2 separate regions of the Homo sapiens genome follow, and region 1 is linked to region 2. Evidence: promoter capture Hi-C in human tissues and cell types (Jung and others, 2019). All regions are on one chromosome and are shown on one strand. The core of a region is centred on a gene start or on the middle of the fragment in contact, and the rest is flanking DNA. Distances in the headings are between cores, read along the strand shown. Region 1 overlaps MARK2 (microtubule affinity regulating kinase 2). Region 2 holds the start of STX5 (syntaxin 5).

Region 1 (4,161 bases), core at 1,624-4,123, 1.1 Mb before region 2:
GACTGGACCCTCAAGGCGGCAATGGGGACCAACCCTTGAGGATTGAGTCCCTGTGATGCCGACTATCCCCGGGGTCCCTAAGGAAACCCTGGAAGGTTCAGAACAAAAAGGTTTCCCTTTGGAGCCTTAGGACAGCTTCCTGCATACCTGTTCTGAGAGGGAGAACTGGAAAAGAGGGGCATTAATGCTCTTTTTTGTTCCCTCCACTTCCTGGCCGCAGGGGACAGACCCATTTCTTGTGGCTAAGATGACAAGAACACAGCAGGACCCCCAAGTGGGAAGAAGAAATTGTTGGGGCAAGGGGGTAGGGTGGGCTGAGGGCAGCAGGTGCACCAGCTGCCCCAGCACACTTGCCTGGGCCGCGGCACCTCACAGTTACTCTCCGTGGGGGGCAGCCCAGAGGCCTTGTTGGGGTGCACGGAGGCCGACATGGATTTCTGGTGCTGGCGGGGCCGGGCCGCAGAGACTGCGGCAGAAGCAGAAGCCGTGGAGGCCCGGGACCCTGGCATGGTTAGGCTAGGAAACAAAAGCAGCGGAGAGGCCCGTGTTAGGGGTGAGTGAGGGCGGGAGGCCTGGATTAGGAAGCAAGGGCAGGGGAAGGGCCAGAGCTGGGGAGCTCTGGCAGGGTAGAAGTCAGGCCTGGGCAGCAGCGGGATGCAAGTCAGAACTGAGGAATGCGGGGCTGAGAAGTGGAGGTGAGTGAGGTCGGGAAGCAGCGAGGTGGGTCAGTGCCTGGGAAGAGGAATCAGAAATGAAGGAGAGCAGACAAGGGGCCGCTGCCTCCAGGCTGCACTGGCCTCCTAAGAATTTTAAGAACAGGAGAGTTTCTTCTACAGAAAGAGTGGGGTGTTGCTGAGGGGAAACTTTCATAAACTCAGAAGAGATAGAGCCAGGAATGCAACACCAAGAAATGCGGCCGGTGAAGGCTGGGGAGCTCTGGTCTCATGGGGATGGCTGGAGTCGCCCTCTATGTGTACACCCCTCAAGGTGGGCATCTCTTGGTTCTGCCCTGAGCTGGGACCCCCAACACAAGGCCTTAGCTGCTCATGTCTAGAGGAGGGCAGCTGCCATGCCCTGGCCGTGGTCAAGAAGCGAGCATGTAGCTGAGATGGCCACGGTCAGCCCCACACTTGGCAAACTGCAAGTAGCAGTCAGAGGAAGATGGGGAGGAGGCAATGGCGTGGAATAGGGGAGGGGAAAGCTGGACTGGACACAGCCAGGATGGAACTCCAGGGAGCAGGGAGCAATGCGCTGGCAGGGACAGGAGACGGTGCTGCTGACAGACATCACCCTGTGAGACATGGCTCCTAGGGAGTGAGGCAGGCAGGGCCCGGGTCTCTCACCTGTCTTTGCCATTCTGGATGGAGGCCTGGCCGAGGCTGGCCCGCTCCAAAAGTGGGGAATTCCTGCTTCGATTTGTGCTGGTGGAGAGGACGCTGTTCTGTGGGGAATAAAGGGCAAGCGTTCTATCAGAAAGCCAAAGTGGTCTACAGCCAGGTTCTCCCCCCAGGTTCATGGAACAGGCTTCCTGTCCCTTCCACCTGAAGCAGACAGTGGTAGGTTAAGGAAAGGATTCTGCATTTACTGCTGGGAGCGAGGCTTCCTGCTATAAGCAGAAGTAGTAGCCAAAGGGAACAGAGTCTGAATTAAGAGAAGAGCTGCCTGGAGAGGGCAGGCCCCACCGCAGGAAGGAAGGAGAGAGCGGGGGGTGCGGCTCACCGTGGAGGGGGTTGGGGTGGTCTTCTTCCTCTCCAGACCGGGCAGGGGGCTGGCAGGCACCTTGGCTGTGCTGCTGGCTTTCCGCCCTGACTCCCGGTCCTCCTCAGGCCGCTTATTTTCTGCGTTGTTACTCTGAGTCTTCTTAGAGTAAGAATTAGAGGTGGGAATGGCAGGACCAGCTGCTGGGCCAGAGGGAGGATGGGAATGGGTAAGGCCAAGGGGTCCACTGAGTGCCAGCCCCACGCATGCTCATTTCCTACAGGGCTGGCCAACAACCCAGCAAGCCCCCATTCCACAGAGGCGAGGGAAGGGAAGTGGCTTGCCCATAGCCACACTACTAATAAGTGGCTGAACCAGGACTGAAACTTAGTTGTGTTACCCAAGTCCCCACAGAACCTGTAACCTCTCTGGAGAGGGGTGAGTCCCCACCTACAACTCCCAAAAGCATTTACCCTGGTCGCTGAAGCGCCGCTGCTTGGGATTGGCCGACACGCTGCGCTGTACCTTGTGGGATGGGGATGGGGCGCTGCTATTGGTCAGATCAGCTGAAGGCCGGGGTTTCAGGGTGATGGTGTCGCCTTCCAGCTGAAAGAAACAGAAAACAGCTTCAAGGGAGGGCAGAAGTCATGTGGAGATCCCTATGGATGGACACATTTACACATACCGCCCTCTCCCAACACTCAAACACCCCAGGATCATACCGGACATCCACTTGTAAGACCAATACATCCCCCCTGGAGGAGACCCTGGAGACACACATGCTCTGACACAGACACTGACAAACACAGTCTCAGAAAGGAATACATAAGCCCACACACCCAGAGACACAAACATCCGCAAGAACACATGTCCAGACTCAAGTCCACTCCCCTCAACACAGAGCAATATGGGCCTATACCAAGTGTCACCAGGTGCCTCTTAAGGATCCCACCACCAGAGGGAGAGCAGGGCAGGGAGGCTGGGAGTTCATGTGGGGATACTCAGATGATGAACAAAACCCAAATGGGCAGAAGAACAATCACAAAGTCTCCAGATCCACAGACGGGAAGACGGACACATACACACACACACACACACACACACACACACAGATACACACACCCAAACATAAAGCACTAGACAGAAGCAACAGACTCAATAGCCGGGTATGGTGGCACATGCCTGTAATCCCAGCTACTTGGGAGGCTGAGGCAGGAGAATCGCTTGAACCCGGGAGGCGGAGGTTGCAGTGAGCCAAGATCCTGCCATTGCACTCCAGCCTGGGCAACAAGAGCGAAATTCCGTCTCAAAAAAAAAAAAAAAAAAAAAAGCAACAGACTCAAACTTCCGATCAGACACACACAGAGACACACACACACACCCAGAAATGTACACTTCCAGATACAAAAAGAGACACAAAGATATCTAGATCAATGTAGTAGTGCTAGCCGATGACCTAGACACATCTAATCAATGCAGACTAACCTAGATCAACTCACCCGTATTGAAACTCTGACCCAGTCCCACACCGACCCTACCAGCTTTCTATTAATTCACTCATGGAGATCAGTGAATGGGCCAGAGGACCTTAGACACCAAAGCTGAGGCTTAAAATTGGTGAGCAGAGAGCACACCTACTCAGAGATGAGCTTCTGCCCTCAACAGGTGTTAGAAGCATAGGTGCTACAGACAGTGAGGCTGGCCAGGTCAGAGAATGGGGCGGGGAGCACACACCTCGGAGCTCTTGTAGCCCAGGAGCAGATAGGTGGCCATCACCTCGTTGTATCTCTGGCCCACCAGCGAGTCCTGGATCTCTTCCCGTGTATAACCCATGGACACCATCAGCTCTGCACAGGGGGACATACAGTTAAGACTGGCCTCAACTCCTAGGCAAGCTTAACCTCACAGCCCGGCACAGCCTCACCTGTCCGCCGGGGGTCCTTGTAGTCAGGGAGTGGCTCCACGTAAGGCTTTAGTTCATCATCTTCGTGACCCACATTCATCCATCGATCTTTCATGATTTGCTGGGGAGCACAGAGAAGGAAAAGGGCAGGGGGAAGAAACTCAGCTGGAAAGTTTCTGTGGGGACCCCAGGCCCTTCCGCCAGTTGGGCTCCACTGCTCACCTCTAAAGTGCCTCTCTTGCTGGGATTAAGAATGAGAAATTTCTTAAGCAGGTTTTCACAGTCCGTGGACATGTAGAATGGAATACGGTATTTTCCCCTCAGTACCCGTTCCCGCAGCTCCTGCAGGAGGATCCAGGGTTAGAAAATTGAAATCACCCCAAGGCCAAAGGAAGAAACCTAATATCCAAGATCCTGAGAGCTTAAGCCTGGCAAAGCAGACATAAATGAAATATGGAAGAAGGCAGACAGCCTGGGGACAAGACACCTCACCAGAGAGGCAAGTGAAGTCAAATACCCTCGTACCCTCTAACTTGACCAGTCCGAGGCCTGCAATCCGG
Region 2 (6,222 bases), core at 306-2,805:
GCCCGGGAATGTGGGAGCCAAGGGCATAGATGTGAGGACCTCCCTATGGAGAGGAAAAGGAGGCAGCTGGAATGCAGACTTGGGACTATCTGTTTACCTGCCTGGTCACTTAATTTCTCTGAGAGGCATTAACAGTTAAAATCCTGAGAGGGTTATTGCCAACAGCATGGATGGGGTTGCTTTCTAGGAGCAGGGAATAAAGGTGGTGGTACCCAGAGGGATTCTTTCTCAGCCAGGGTCTCCTTCCCTGTGGGTTTGTCCCTGTGCCCCTGACTACTTTTCTTTTTTTTTTTTTTTTTTTTTTTTTTTAAACTTCTTTTTGTGGAGATGGGGTCTCCTTATGTTGCCCAGTCTGGTCGCTAAGTCCTGGGCTCAAGCAATCCTCCTGCCTTGGTCTCCCAAAGTGCTGAGATTACAGGTGGGAGCCACCGTGCCCGGCCCCCCTGACTCCTAAGCTTTCTTCCCACTCACCAGGATGAGCCCCAAGAGCCTCAAGAACCCAACAAGGTGCCCCTAGAAGACACAGAGACAGATGAACTTTGGGCATCCTTGGAGGCAGCTGCCAAGCGGAAGCTCTCGGGTTTGGAGCAGCCCCAAGGAGCTCTCCAAACGAGACGGAGAAAGAAGAAGCGGCCTGGGTCCACCAGCCCCTGACGCCCCTGTGCCCACTTTGTAAATAAACTGCTGAACACCCACCATGACCCTGAGCCTTTTGTGATGGGAGAAAGGAATGAGGGGTAGCTTGGGGTGGGGGCTGCCTGAGCTGGGGCGACGGGATATCTGATGTCACAAAAGCCGGGCCTGGAGGCAGGCAGGCTGGCGTGGGTGGCACGGAGTCCAGGGCCACGCGGGGCCATGGGCTGCTGCCAAGACAAGGACTTTGAGATGTCTGATGAGCAGTCCAAGGAGGAAGAGTCTGAGGACGGCAGGGAAGATGAGACCACAGACACACAAAGAGGGCCCAGGGAGTGTGAGAGGGGGCTTCCCGAGGGTAGGGGTGAGCTCAGAGGCCTCGTCGTCCCCTCAGGCGCCGAAGATATCGACTTGAACTCCCCGGACCATCCGAATCACAAGTCGAACGAAAGCCTTCTGATTACCGTGCTGTGGCGGCGACTATCCACGTTCGGTCGTCGGGGCTCCTCGCGGCCAAGCAAGAGGCAACCAGACCAGATTCGGAAGCAGGAGAGTCCGATCCGAGAAGGCAACCAGGAGGAGCCGGAGAAGGGATGACCCCAGACCTGCTCTCAGTCCGCCCCAACCTCCAGAGAATAAAATTTCTAACGTATACCTGCACGACCACTCTGGGGGACTGGGCGCGGACACCACCGGGCAGCTGGTTCTTTAAGGCTCCTTCCCGGAGGCGGGCCCAGCCCCCTGAGCGCCTGCTGTAGTACTCTGGGGCGGGGTCACGGTGGCGCCTTAGCCAATGGGAGGGCGGGATCGCTCTTGCGTTTGGGTGTGGGGCGTGTCTTTCGGGTCGCTGGGCTTGAAACGCGTGGGACCGCCCCCTCGTCACTGGGGGTGGGGTTACGTGTAGGTGACGTGGCCGCTTCCAGTCTTTGGTCGGGTTTCGGCGGCTTCAGTGCTCGGGGAGGAGGCAGTGACGGCCGGTGAGATTGGAAGTGGCGGCGGCGGCAGGCGGCAGAGGGGAGGTAAGATTCGCTTTAAGAGGGGATCTGGCCGCCGTGTCAGCTCTGGGGCAGTGGTTTTACGGGGGCGACGACTGGCGGGGGGAAGGGAATCAGGGGCGAGCGGGCAAGTCCTGCCGGCCCGGCTCCGGGTGAGCGAATTCCTTGCCGTCCAATCAGGAAAGCCTCTGTTGAGAGAGACGTCGGCCTTAGCTAATGAGTGGTTGAAGTCTTCCAGAAGGCGGACCTTGGGCGGGGGGTGGGACTTCCTGTTTCAAATAAACACCCAGAGGTTTTCCCCCTCCGCCCACCGAAGTGTGTCAGTCTTTGGAGGTCCGTCACTGGCCCTCCCGGAGGGGCCGAAGGAAACCGCGGAAACGAAAGGGCTGGGTTAGGGCCCGGGGCAGTTACACGGGCCGGGCCGGAGTCTCAGGACCACGGGGTTGGCTCTGGCCCTGTCTCTGCTTCAGGGTCCCCGGCCCGCGCTCTGGCCGCCAGAGCCAAGTTGGAAGAAGAGTCTGAAGCGGGTTCGACTTGGGACAGGGGAAAAGCGGGGCCCTTTCCGCTGCTGGTCCGCCCCAGGATTTGCGAGCGTCCTGGGCGCGAAAGTCCACGAGAAGTGCAGAAGGGGCTCGGGGATTTGTTGATTGGGGTGGGGCGGGGGAGTTTGGGTAAAGAAGTTGCCTGGGGAATGACACTCTCCCCTCCACAACAGTCCGAGGTTATGCGTCTCAATGATCCCGCGGAAACGCTACGGGTCTAAGAACACGGATCAGGGTGTCTACCTGGGTCTCTCAAAGACACAGGTCCTGTCCCCTGCAACTGCTGGCAGTAGCAGCAGCGACATCGCCCCTCTGCCCCCCCCAGTGACCCTCGTCCCTCCCCCTCCCGACACCATGTCCTGCCGGGATCGGACCCAGGAGTTTCTGTCTGCCTGCAAGTCGCTGCAGACCCGTCAGGTAAGGACCTGGAGTGGAAAAGGCGAGGAGTGAGCCTTACTCAAATCTAGGAAGGACTGTGCTCCACCACTGTTAACCGAAGTAATTTTGGGGGGTACCTGATGGAACTGATAGGCTTGGATGGGGCCTGTAGGGTCTGCTATAAGCAACAGAGAAGAGGTCGGCTGGCTAACTAGGGGCAAGGACTTAGACTTTTTTTTGTGAGGAATCCTTTGGAGGGCAGGATTGCTATTCTGGAGGGAGTACTTCAGAGAGTACTTGGCTGCAATATAATTGGTGTGAATAAGGAACAAGTTCTAGGAAGAGCCTTTAGCTGAGAAACATGCACCTTGAATTTTCCAATATACTTCTACCATAAGTTTGCTCTGTAACCATGAGAAAATTAGTTAATCTAGTTACATATTAGTTTTTATCTCTGTAAGATTAAGGACATTTTCTAGATAAGTAATTTGTTGTTTTTGTTTTGTTTTGAGATCTGTTTTTCAACTCTGTCAACAGGCTGGAGTGTAGTGGTGTGATGATAGCTCACTTGCAGTCTTGAACTCCTAGACTCAAGGGATCCTCTTTCCTCAGCCTCCTGAGCAGCTGGGACTACATGGATGCACCACTCAGCTAATTTTAAAATTTTTTCGTACAGGCAGTGTCTCACTATGTTGCCCAGGTTGGTCTGGACACCACACCTGGCCCTAGATCAGTAATTTGTATCAAAATCACTTAGGGTTGGATGTGGTGGCTCATACCTGTAATTCCAGCACTTTGGGAGGCCTAGGCCAGAGGATGACTTGAGGCCAGGAGTTAGAGACCAGCAGGAGCAACAAAGCAAGACCCTGTTTCTACAGGAAAAAAAAAAAAAAAAGCTGGACGTGGTGGCATGTGCCTGTAGTCCCAGCTACTTAGAAGGCTGAGCGAGGCCCAGTCTCTTCCTCTCTCTCTTTTTTTTTTTTTTTTTTTTTTGAGAAGGAATTTTGCCTTGTCGCCCAGACTGGGGTGCAATGGTGCAATCTCGGCTCACTGCAACCTCCTCTTCCTGGGTTCAAGCGATTCTCCTGCCTTAGCCTCTCGAGTAGCTGGGATTACAGGTGCCCGTCACCACGCCCGGCTAATTTTTGTATTTTTTTTTAGTAGAGATGGGGTTTCACCATGTCAGGCTGGCTTTGAACTCCTGACCTGAGGTGATCTGCCCTCCTCAGCCTCCCAAAGTGCTGGGATTACAGGTATGAGTCACCACACCTGGCCTCTCTCTCTCCTTTTTTGGAAACATGGTCTCACTCTGTCACCAAGGCTGGAGTACAATGGTTCTATCTCATCTCACTGCAACATCTGACCTCCTGGGCTCAAGCAACCCTCCTGCCTCAGGCTCCTCAGTAGCTGGGATTATAGGCATGTGCCACCACATCTGGCTAATTTCTGTTTTGTTAGTAGAGATGGGGTTTTACCATGTTGCCCAGGCTGGTCTCGAACTTCTGGGCTCAAGTGATCCGTCTGCTTTATCTTCTCAAAGTGCTGGGATTACAGGTGTCAGCCACTGCACTCAGCTCCTCTTAAAAAAAATTTGGGAGTGCTATTTATTTATTTATTTATTTATTTATTTTTGAGATGGGAATTTCGCTCTTGTTGCCCAGGCTGTAGTGCAGTGGCACGATCTTAGCTCACTGCAACCTCCGCCTCCCGGGTTCCAGTGATTCTCCTGCCTCAGCCTCCCAAGTAGCTGGGATTACAGACATGCGCCACCATGCCTGGCTAATTTTGTATTTTGAGTGGAGACGGGGTTTCTCCATATTGGTCAGGCTGGTCTCAAACTCCCGACCTCAGGTGCTCTGCCCGCCTCAGCCTTCCAAAGTGCTGGGATTGCAAGCGTGAGCCACCGTACCCAGCCGGGAGTGTTTTTTTCAACAATCCCAGTGGGACCCGAGTAAGCAGTTTGTGTTTGTTTGTTTGTTTGTTTGTTTGTTTGTTTTTGAGACAGTCTCTCTTTGTTGCCAGGCTGGAGTGCAGTGACGTGATCTGGGTTCACTGCAGCCTCCACCTCTGGGTTTAAGTGATTCTCCTGCCTCAGCCTCCCAAGTAGCTGGGAATACAGGCGGTGCCAGGACACCCAGCTAATTTTTGTATTTTTAGTAGAGACGGGGTTTCACTGTGTTCGCCAGGATGGTCTCTGTCTCTTGACCTCGTGATCTGCTTGCCTCGGCCTCCCAAAATGCTGGGATTACAGGTGTGAGCCACTGCACCTGGCCAAGTAACTGTATTTATTTATTTGTTTGTTTGTTTGTTTATTTATTTATTTATTTATTTTGAGACGGAGTCTCGCTCTGTCACCCAGGCTGGAGTGCAGTGGTGGGATCTTGGCTCACGGCAGCCTCCACCTCCCAGGTTCAAGTGATTCTCCGGCCTCAGCCTGCTGAGTAGCTGGGACTACAGGTGCATGCCACCACACCTGGCTAAATTTTTGTATTTTTAGTAGAGATGGGGTTTCACCATGTTAGCCAGGTTGGTCTCAATCTCTTGACCTCGTGATCCGCCTGCCTCAGCTTTCCAAAGTGCTGGGATTACAGGCGTGAGCCACTGCACCCGGCCGAGTAACTGTATTTTTAAATATTTTTACTGATGGCTGGACATGCTGGCTGGCACCTGTAATCCCAGCACTTTGGGAGGCTGAGGTGGGAGGATTGCGTGAGCCTAGGAGTTCAAGACCAGCCTGGGCAATATAGCAAGACCCTATCTCTACAAAAAGTTAAAAATTAGCTAGGTGTGGTGGTGTGCCCTGTAGTCCCAGCTACTTGGGAGGCTGAAGTTGGAGGATCACTTGAGCCCAGGATGTCGAGGCCGCAGTAAGTTATGATCATGCTACTATATTCCAACCTGGGAGACAGAGTGAGACCCTGTCTCAAAAACAGAAAAGTTATAAAGAAGTGTTTTTCAGCTCATGGTAAAGCTGCTCTTCTGTATGATCTCCAAGAGCTTTGCAATCATCCTTATTGATTTCCTGATTTGAGGAATAGAATGGCAATACTAGATACCATTTATTTAGTGCTTACTATGTACCAGGTAGTTGACTGAAGTACTTTTCAGCCTTTTTGTTATTTAACCTTAGCAACAATAGGAGATGTGTGGATTGTCTTCATTTTATAGAAGAGAAAGTAGAGATTTAGAATGTTTTAAGTAACTCGCCCCAAATCCACCAGCTAGTAGTAAGTGGTGAGTCAAGATTTGAACTCAGGTCTACCTGCTCTTCAAATCTGGACTCTAAACGACTACCACTCATAAATCTAGATCATCTGATGGATGCCACCAGCACTAGAGATAGGTTAGTGGACACCTCAGGAAGAGTGAAAGCTGGAACTGGGGAAGGGAGAACTAAAGTTGTCACCTCCTGCCATTGCTTTTCAGAATGGAATCCAGACAAATAAGCCAGCTTTGCGTGCTGTCCGACAACGCAGTGAATTCACCCTCATGGCCAAGTGAGTTGAGAGAAGCTTTCTGGTGGGGTGATACAGTGTCTGAAGAAAAGTAGACTTGCAATCAGTGGCCTTGGCTGTGAAGTCTGGGATTGGTTATGCTGGAGCTTATGTGGGAAAAGGCGTCCTGCCCTTTCCCACAGTCTGACTAGTGGTCATTTGCAGGCGCATTGGGAAAGA

What was found. Contacts are between HindIII fragments. The study calls those that stand out against the background at their distance.
Region 1: a contact is called between a fragment that was not itself captured here and the fragment with the promoter of STX5 in region 2, in 1 of the 25 tissues and cell types used here (dorsolateral prefrontal cortex).

The regions. Positions count from the first base shown.
Region 1 is chr11:63,900,341-63,904,501 of GRCh38, reverse strand. MARK2 (microtubule affinity regulating kinase 2) reads right to left here. Exons shown (of 19, transcript NM_001039469.3): 9 at 3,824-3,943; 10 at 3,623-3,722; 11 at 3,433-3,545; 12 at 2,172-2,304; 13 at 1,720-1,901; 14 at 1,344-1,441; 15 at 355-516. Among named protein-coding and RNA genes, the nearest start is that of RCOR2, 15 kb to the left of the region's middle. RefSeq lists an enhancer at 876-1,688. The HindIII fragment of the contact is 6,882 bases long and covers 1-4,161 here.
Region 2 is chr11:62,827,384-62,833,605 of GRCh38, reverse strand. It overlaps STX5 (syntaxin 5), which reads left to right and starts at 1,555. Exons shown (of 11, transcript NM_003164.5): 1 at 1,555-1,652; 2 at 2,344-2,587; 3 at 5,975-6,045; 4 at 6,208-6,222. The coding sequence starts at 2,363. It overlaps TEX54 (testis expressed 54), which reads left to right and starts at 765. Exons shown (of 1, transcript NM_001395459.1): 1 at 765-1,285. The coding sequence starts at 856. The coding sequence ends at 1,230. It overlaps WDR74 (WD repeat domain 74), which reads left to right. Exons shown (of 11, transcript NM_001369450.1): 11 at 475-695. The coding sequence ends at 654. STX5-DT (STX5 divergent transcript) reads right to left here and starts at 1,372. Exons shown (of 2, transcript NR_135084.1): 1 at 1,289-1,372; 2 at 1-43. RefSeq lists enhancers at 1,045-1,094, 1,115-1,184, 1,555-1,644. The HindIII fragment of the contact is 7,048 bases long and covers 1-6,222 here.